Linked DNA regions of Homo sapiens: regions 2 and 3 are each linked to region 1. The links are contacts of gene promoters, found by promoter capture Hi-C in human tissues and cell types (Jung and others, 2019). All regions are on one chromosome and are shown on one strand. Each heading gives the region's core, a stretch centred on a gene start or on the middle of the fragment in contact. The rest is flanking DNA. Distances are from core to core; before and after follow the strand shown. Region 1 holds the start of KBTBD12 (kelch repeat and BTB domain containing 12). Region 2 overlaps MGLL (monoglyceride lipase). Region 3 has its middle 12 kb from the start of ABTB1.

Region 1 (2,700 bases), core at 153-2,652:
GTGGGCAGAAGAGTTAGTGTCAAAGTGATGCTGAGAGGTGAAGCCAGCTGCACTTCTGGGTTGGGTGGGGACTTGGAGAACTTTTCTGTCTTACAAGAGGATTGTAAAATGCACCAATCAGCACTCTGCAGCTAGGATTGTAAAACGCACCAATCAGCGCTCTGTGGCTAGCTAGAGGTTTCTAAAATGGGCCAATCAGCACTCTGTAAAAACACACCAATCAGCTCTCTGTGGCTAGCTAGAGGTTTGTAAAATGGACCAATCAGCACTCTGTAAAATGGACCAATCAGCACACTGTAAAATGGACCAATCAGCACTTGGTAAAATGGACCAATCAGCAGGACATGGGCAGGGACAAATAAGGGAATAAAAGCTGGCCACCCAGTCAACACAGGGAACCCAGTCAGGTCCATTTCTAGGTTGTGGAAGCATTGTTCTTTTGCTCTTCACAATAAATTTTGCTGCTCCTCACTGTTTGGGTCCATGTGACCTTTAAAGCTTTCTTTAACATTTAAGGTCCGTGGCTTCATTCTTGAAGTTAGCGAGATGGAGACCACAAGCCCACTGAAAGGAACCAACTGCAGACACAATGCATGTGAGAAAGACTCAGCCCTATTTTCTGGCTTTGAAGCTGGAGGAAGGAGCCAGGAGCAAAAGAATGAAGACAGTTTCCAGAAGCTGCAAAAGGGCAGGGACAGATTCACTCCAGGAAGCCCCAGAAACAAACACAGTCCTGCTGACACCTTGATTTCAATCCAGTGAGACATATTTTGGACTTCTGACCTACAGAGCTAAAATAATAGTAAGATAATAAAGTTATGTTGCCACCACTGAAAACAGTTTTATTTTGCTTTGGTTTAAGCTAACTGAGCTAATACAGCTGCCGTATTTTATGACACTTGCCTAAGGAAGACTTCCCATCCCTGCACTGCTCCCGGCTAACCAGTCCTTTCTCGGGACTCCTGGAAACCTCCCACTCTCAGAGAGGTGTAGGGTATAAAAATCACAAGCTGATGGCTCAGGATGTAGCAAATAAAAATACAAGACCAAAACGAAACCCAACCGGAACACCGAGTTAAACGTGAATTGACCATGCGATATTTGGGACATACTTAACACTAAAAATTACTGGTTGTGTATCTGAAATTTACCTTTAACTGGGCTCATGTATTTTACCGGGCAACCCTACCCCCCGGTCACAGTGAGACTACACACGGGGTCTTTTGGTCATTTTGCAAGTGTAAAAGACTAACGGGAACACCGGCATTTTTCAAAGCTCGATTTCCAAACCTCCTTTAAACACTTGTCCCCATCCCCTCCCCGCAGGCCTTCAGTCGCTCTGGCACGCGGGCCAGCGCGGGAACACTCTGCGCAGGCGCACAGCGTTCCGCGGGGGACGCTCAGTAGGGTACGGGACGCGCGCGGGGAGACCCTGTGCAGCGACACCGGGGCTGTAGTCGCCGTCTGGAACCAGCGCGGGAATAGGTGCGCAGGCGCACAGTGGCTGGAGGGCAGCGGCGGCGTGGTCTCGGGCCACTTCCAAGCAGAGGGCAGCACCTGTCCCCTCGGAGGCGCTGCCAGCGCCCTCCCTCCTCCTCCGCAGGGCGCGGGACCTCTATTTATATCGCCCAGCCAGCACAGGCCCATATTGGGCAGTGGCCTCAGTCAGGCCCGCTGGCCGCCCTGCCACACGGTAGCGTCCAAGCCAGGTCGTGGCCCAGCGAGTGGGGACGCGCCCCGAACCAGGCAGCACCTTCGTAAGTAGGGGTAGCGCCCCGGGGGAACGCGGCCCCCAGTCACAAGCCCTGCCTCAACTCCGGGCCAGGTTGAACCTGGGCGCCGACCCGGGGCCACCGGCACTTGCAGCCTCGGCTCTAAGTGACTTCCTTCGAGTCGCAGTGGGCCGGCGCCTGGCGTCAGGTGGGGCTCCCAGGAGCTGCTCCTCCAGGCCATCTCTGCCGTCTCCGACCTTCACCGTCGGGTTGTTCAGGCTCGTAGTCTGCATAGTATTATCATCCTCCGAATTACCTGACCAATGTATTATTGTGCCTTCCGTCGCTAGACTGTAAGCACAACAAAGGTAAGGGGCACTTCCCTGTTCCTGGTTGTCTTCCCGGAACCTAGGATAGTGCCTGGCACTTAGAAGGGTTCGTTTAAGTTTAATAAACCCTGAATGTATCCCTGAGCAACTCTCTTAACTTTAAAGCCAGGAGAATAATTGCCCTACATTTTCCCCCAAATGATTCTTAAGAGGAACTAATGAGCTATAATGCGGATTAAAGCACTTTGAAAAGTATAAAGCACTGTGAGAATGCAAAACAGTGTGAACTCGGCAAAGAAAAGAAAAGAAAACTGGTCTTATTTGTCTTTATCATCCATGTGCCTGGCTGTTACTGGATGCCCGGTGTGTGGGATGGATTATTATGAAATGAATCAGGTCTTTTTCCATGCTAGTGAGAAGCACAGAGTACATTTAGGGTGGTGCGTGTGTTCTCAGCCATTTCCTACCAGCCTCTGCAAGCGTAGGATTTTAGCAAGATGGTGTTGCTGAAACAAAATAGGGTGTGGAGACGTAATCGTATAAACTGGGGGTCACAAACTTAAATGGCTGTAGGATAATGTAAATGGACAGGAAAGAGAAAAGCAACAGCGTAAGAATTACAAATAATGACTGTCCCTCAGGTCTCAAAGAGGATAATG
Region 2 (2,700 bases), core at 182-2,681, 150 kb before region 1:
CCCTGGGCAGTGATTCTAGACTATAGTGTCCATCAGAGTTGCCTAAGGGCTTGCTAAACACTGACTGCTGGTCCCACCCTGGAGCCGGAGAGTGTGCACTTCCTGCAAATCCCTGGGTGGTGCTGCTGCTGCTCCTGCTGTTGCTGGTTTGACCAGAATCACACTTTGAGAACCACTACCATACTCACAGCCCTCATATCTAGAGATGGTTCCTTTCAGTTCAGCATATGGAGTCTCTGGGTAAAACTCTGCTAGAAAGAGTTGGATTGTCAGGCCAGGAGCGGTGGCTTATGCCTGTAATCCCGGCACTTTGGGAGGCTGAGGTGGGCAGATCACCTGATGCCAGGAGTTTGAGGCCAGCTTGGCCAACATGGTGAAACCCCGTCTTTACTAAAAATAAAAAATTAGCCAGGCGTGGTGGTGTGCACCTGTAATCCCAGCTACTCAGGAGGCTGAGGCAGGAGAATTGCTTGAACCTAGGAGGAGGAGGTTGCAGTGAGCTGAGATCATGCCATTGCACTCCAGCCTGGGCAACACAGCAAGACTCTATCTCAAAAAAAAAGAAAAAAAAAAGAATTGGATTGTCTTTGACCATAAGCTTCCTACAAATCAATTTTTAAACAACTGGCATTTCAAAAGTTCAACTAACCTGCATCACCTAGACGCTGCCCTCACTTAGTGCCATAGTCCACACTAAAACCCTGTGACGGAGGTAGTGCATCCTCCCCACTTCTCAGATGAAGATGGCAAGGCCCAGGGAGGCTGGTGAGGGGGAGGCTGCCATCAGAGCTGAGGTCTTCTCCAGGTCCAGGGAGTACTGGACCCTGAGCTGCCAGCCCGGGTGGCTTAGCCCTGAGGGACTGAACATATTTAAGTAGCAAGTGAGCTCCAAGAGGCTGCAAGCTGATGTCTGTTTGGTTCAGCATTTCCCCAGTGCCCAGACAGTGCAGGCACATAGTGAGTTTCAATAAATACTTGCTGAGTGGAGGGAGAGCAGAGCAGCCTCCCTGCCTCCACCCCACAACACCCCACCCCCGAAGCCCCGTCAGAGTGCTGGGGGGTCTGTCCTGAGGATGGAGCGGGGCTCCTGTGAGTGCTCAGCTCAGTGACCGGCGCGCGCCATGGCTGCTTTCTTCTTCCACCTGTCATCTCGACATCAGCCTGCCCTTCCCCAGGCCGCTCTGCTGCAACAGCAATAAGGTGCCTCTCTTCATAACTATCCTCCCTTGTAACTCGCAAAGAGCTTTCATACCTAGTTTCTCATTTAGAATCAGAGAATTCTAGAAGTGGAAGAAACTTCCTAAATCCTCAATCTCCTGGGCTCAAGTGATCTTTCCACCTCAGCCTCCCAAGTAGCGGGGACAGGTGCACGCCACTGCACCCAGCTAATTTTTGTATTATTTTTGTAGAGACAGAGTCACATCCTATTGCCCAGACTGGTCTCAAACTCCTGGCCTCAAGCGATCCTCCCACCTCAGCCTCCCACAGTGCTGGGATTACAGATGTGAACCACTGTAATCCCACTGTAATGCCTCACCCTGAAACATTTTTTTTAAGTGAATCCTTTAATCAAATGAAATATTGTACAGAAAAAGAGCTGAATGGCCCTGCATAAGGTGGGAAAGAATGCAGTGCTCAGCCCTCTAGGTTTCTGGGACCCTCCCCACAGCCCCTTGGAGGATATAGGCTCCCCAGGGCAGTTGGAACTTCCCTCATCCACTCCAGGTCTCTTCACCTTTCAGAAAGAACCGAGATGGCAGGAGGGAGAGTGTCATGCCCAAGCCGTGGCATGGGTTGGTCAAAGAACTAAGGCGTGAGGGCCAGGTGCAGCTGCATAGAGGGAGTCCCGTAAATGAACAGTGAATATCTAAGAATATGGAATAGTCTCCAGGAGGCAGGGCTGTACGGAGCAAAACCAGGCCACAAAACCCTGTTGGAGTCTTTAAACATCTTTAACCACTTGGCCTGTGATCCAAGGTCAGAGGATCAGTGACTTGCCCAAGGTCACAAGGCTGGGTGTCCAGGGTCACAAGGGTGAGTGCCAAGGGTCACAGGCTGAGAGCTCAAGGTCACAAGGCTGAGCACCCAAGGTTATAAGGCTGGGTACTCAAGGTCACAAGGGTGAGCGTCGAGGTCATAAGGCTGGGAGCCCAGGAAAGGCTAGGTATCTAGGGTCACAGGCAAGGTGCCCAGGGTCACAAGGATGTGTGTCCAAGGTCACAAGACTGAATGATTTACCAATTTCCTCTTTCTCTTTATGCTGCTTGTCCCTGATTAGGCCCCAGAAGCCTGCTTAAACCCCCATCTGCCTATGTCTCAACCCTACAATTTGTGCTAACCAAGCCCATGTAAGCAGGAACCACAACTGCTCATTGCCTCAGGCAGTTACCCTCCCAATCCTGCCTCCTTGAAAGCCTGGCTCCTGCACCAACAGGAGCAGAGGCAGCTGCTCTCTGCTCACCGTGAGCTTCGTGGACCCAGCGACCATCCTCCCTCTGGTCCTGCTCATCACAAGGCAACCCTTTACTATTTCTGTCTTCCTCCAGTTATGCATTTTATTTTATTTTTTGCGATAGGGTCTCGCTCTGTCGCCCAGGTTGGAGTGCAGTGGTGAAATCACAGCTCACTGCAGCCTTGACCTCCTGGGTTCAAGCGATCCCAAGTAGCTCCTGCCTCAGTCTCCCAAGTAGCTGAGATCAT
Region 3 (2,700 bases), core at 175-2,674, 230 kb before region 1:
GTTATTATTTGAAATCATAAAGTTTCCAATCTTGAACAAATTTTAAATAAAACCCTAGTAAGAGGGCAGTTTAAGGAAAAATTATCTGGAGTTGGTATTTTAGTGGTTCACTGATACAGCAGATACATACAGCCAGGTGTACCAGCTATGGCACCTGTTCAGGGAGAGCTGCAGTCTGAGAACTGCCACCCCTCAGGAACTAGGCTGTGTGGTTGTTGGGGCAGCATTCCCCAGCCACACCACACCATTTCTCACTTTATTTTATTTTATTATTTTATTTTATTTTATTTTATTTTTTTGAGACGGAGTCTAGCCCTTTTACCCAGGCTGGAATACAGTGGTGTGATCTCGGCTCACTGCAACCTTTATCTCCCAGGTTCAAATGATTCTCGTGCCTCAGCCTCCAGAGTAGCTGGGGCTACAGGCGCCCACCACCATGCCCAGCTAATTTTCATATTTTTAGTAGAGACATTGTTTCACCATGCTGGCCAGGGTGGTCTCGAACTCCTGACCTCAAGTGATCCGCCCGCCTCAGCCTCCCAAAGTGCTGGGATTACAGGCATGAGCCACTGCACCCGGCCCCATTCCTCACTTTAGCCTCAGGCAGAGAAGACAGCGCGATGGGGAAACACTTATGTAGGAAGGTGTCCAATGCGGTATTGCAAATCAACAGGAAGCATTGCCAGCAGCCGCAGCGAGCAGCAAGTGGGGAAGGAACAGAGAGCATGGATGCGCAGAGCTTCCTGTAACTACGAGGGTGGTCAGTGAAGCTTCTGTGTCCACAAGGAAAAGGTGGAGGACATTCAGGCACTAGGGGGTGCTCCCCAGGCTTATGTGAGAAACCTGTAGCACAGACAGCCACACAGGAGTAGTGAACTACAACCATGGAATTTGAAATTTAGTGTCTAATACTTGGTTCTAAAATTGGGTTGATTTAAATTCAGAAGTGTGCTCTACTCTGACAAATGTTAAAATAGACTAATAGAAGACACATTTTGACACAGAGGCCCTGGGTTTGAGACTCCTCCATCATCCCTAAACCAGAGGAAGAGTTGCTGCGTGAGAGCTGGGGATATTTGATCTGATTTCTGTTTAGTTTCTGTAATGTAGCTGTGCTACCTTTAAAATTAAAAATAAAACAAAACATGTTTATCTCTTTAATTCATTCCCACTCCCAGGTGAAAAAAAAATTTTATTGTTGAATGAAAAATATTTTCATCATGTGTTATTGGAAAAATTATATGTATTCTCTCCCAACTCAAGATACCCACAAATTTTTAACAGACAGAAAAATAGACTGGTGGTTCACGCCTGTAATCCCAGCACTTTGGGAGGCTGAGGCAGGAGGATGGTCTGAGCGCAGGAGTTTGAGACCAGCCTGGGCAGCACACTGAGACTCTGTCTTTCCAAAAAATAAAAAATTAGCCGGGTGTGGTGGCGCGAGCCTGTAGTCCCAGCTACTCTAGAGGCTGAGGTGGGAAGGTAGCTTGAACCCAGGAGGTTGAGGCTGCAGTGAGCTGTGACTGCACCACTGCACTCCAGCCTGGGCAACAGAGTGAGACGCTGTCTCAGAAAAAAAAAAAGAAAAATCAACTGGACAATGACAAAATGAGCAATGATGGAAAGGAAATAAACTCCATTTTGCACAGGAAAGGTAGTATAGGGATGGCTTGTTGACCCACCAGAAGAGGAAGAAGAGTGAAGGTGGGGCTGGGCAACCCTCTACCTAAAGCCCCCAACCGACAGGTGGTCCTCTCCCGCAGCAACTGCTGCTCTGAGGGTCTGCTCCCTGCTGTGGCTGGTCTTGGACGCTGCATCATCTGCTGCTGACCCCTTTAGTGACACCACCCTTGGTTAGGTGCAGCTGTTTCCTGCAGGGCCCCGAATGACCATGCCCTTCACACCTGTGCTCCAGCCATCCTGAGAGTCTCTCAGTTTTGGGGCCGCCCTGAGCTCTCTGCACCTCGAAAACTCCCCCGCAGACCCCTCTGCTGTGCCCCCAACCCCGGCCCGCTCCTGCTCACCTTTGGCTTCTGGAGGGCTGTGCTGGCCCCAGGCTGTGCTGGCGGACACTGGGTGCCCATCGCTGTTAGGCTCTGGGGTGGGAGTCCATGTCGCCCGGGGTCCTTGTTCTGTGAGGGCGGCCCACCTTGTTCTGCCCTGGTCACCGTGCAGCGCTGGGTTCCTCCCAGCGCTGGACACCGTGCCTGGAGCATCACAGGTGCCCAGTAAGGGGCTTGTGATGAGCCTGAGTGTTCATGGAGGAGGCTGGAAAAGCCAACAAATGCAAACATTGTTGGCTCTAGGTTTGATACAGTGAAGTTCCAGGCAGAATTTGGTTGGCCATAAGTAGAGCATGAGGACGTGGAGAGAACGGGCTGTCCTTCAGGTCTGCACACCTTTGGGGGACCTTCTGCACAGAGGCCAGGTGCCACCCACCCAGGGCCTGAGTGGTTTGCAGGGTCCAGTGCAAAACAGCACGTGGGGACCTTGCTCAAAGAGCATTAAGAATTTCCAGAGAGCAACAGTAGAGCACTCACCCAAACGCACGGACCTTCTAGGGTGGGGTCTGGGCCTCTGCATGGGTGGCCAGGCTGCGAGGCCAACCCTGCTTCCACACCCAGTTCCCAGCTCAGTGCCTGGCTCAGATAAAGCCTTCCTGCCTCCTTCCTCCCTCTTTCCATCCCTCTCTCCCTCCCT

What was found. Contacts are between HindIII fragments. The study calls those that stand out against the background at their distance.
Region 2: a contact is called between a fragment that was not itself captured here and the fragment with the promoter of KBTBD12 in region 1, in 1 of the 25 tissues and cell types used here (spleen).
Region 3: a fragment that was not itself captured here is called in contact with the fragment with the promoter of KBTBD12 in region 1 in 1 of the 25 tissues and cell types used here (hippocampus).

What each region holds. Positions count from the first base shown.
Region 1 is chr3:127,913,830-127,916,529 of GRCh38, forward strand. It overlaps KBTBD12 (kelch repeat and BTB domain containing 12), which reads left to right and starts at 1,403. Exons shown (of 6, transcript NM_207335.4): 1 at 1,403-1,757. The region is part of intron 3 of LOC107986129 (a long non-coding RNA gene); the gene reads right to left. LOC124909427 (a long non-coding RNA gene) reads left to right here. Exons shown (of 2, transcript XR_007096071.1): 2 at 517-837. The HindIII fragment of the contact is 11,252 bases long and covers 1-2,700 here.
Region 2 is chr3:127,768,798-127,771,497 of GRCh38, forward strand. The region is part of intron 3 of MGLL (monoglyceride lipase); the gene reads right to left. Among named protein-coding and RNA genes, the nearest start is that of MGLL, 52 kb to the right of the region's middle. RefSeq lists an enhancer at 1-78. The HindIII fragment of the contact is 6,453 bases long and covers 1-2,700 here.
Region 3 is chr3:127,683,117-127,685,816 of GRCh38, forward strand. No RefSeq gene overlaps it. Among named protein-coding and RNA genes, the nearest start is that of ABTB1, 12 kb to the left of the region's middle. RefSeq lists enhancers at 1-180, 1,987-2,096, 2,487-2,616. The HindIII fragment of the contact is 4,293 bases long and covers 1-2,700 here.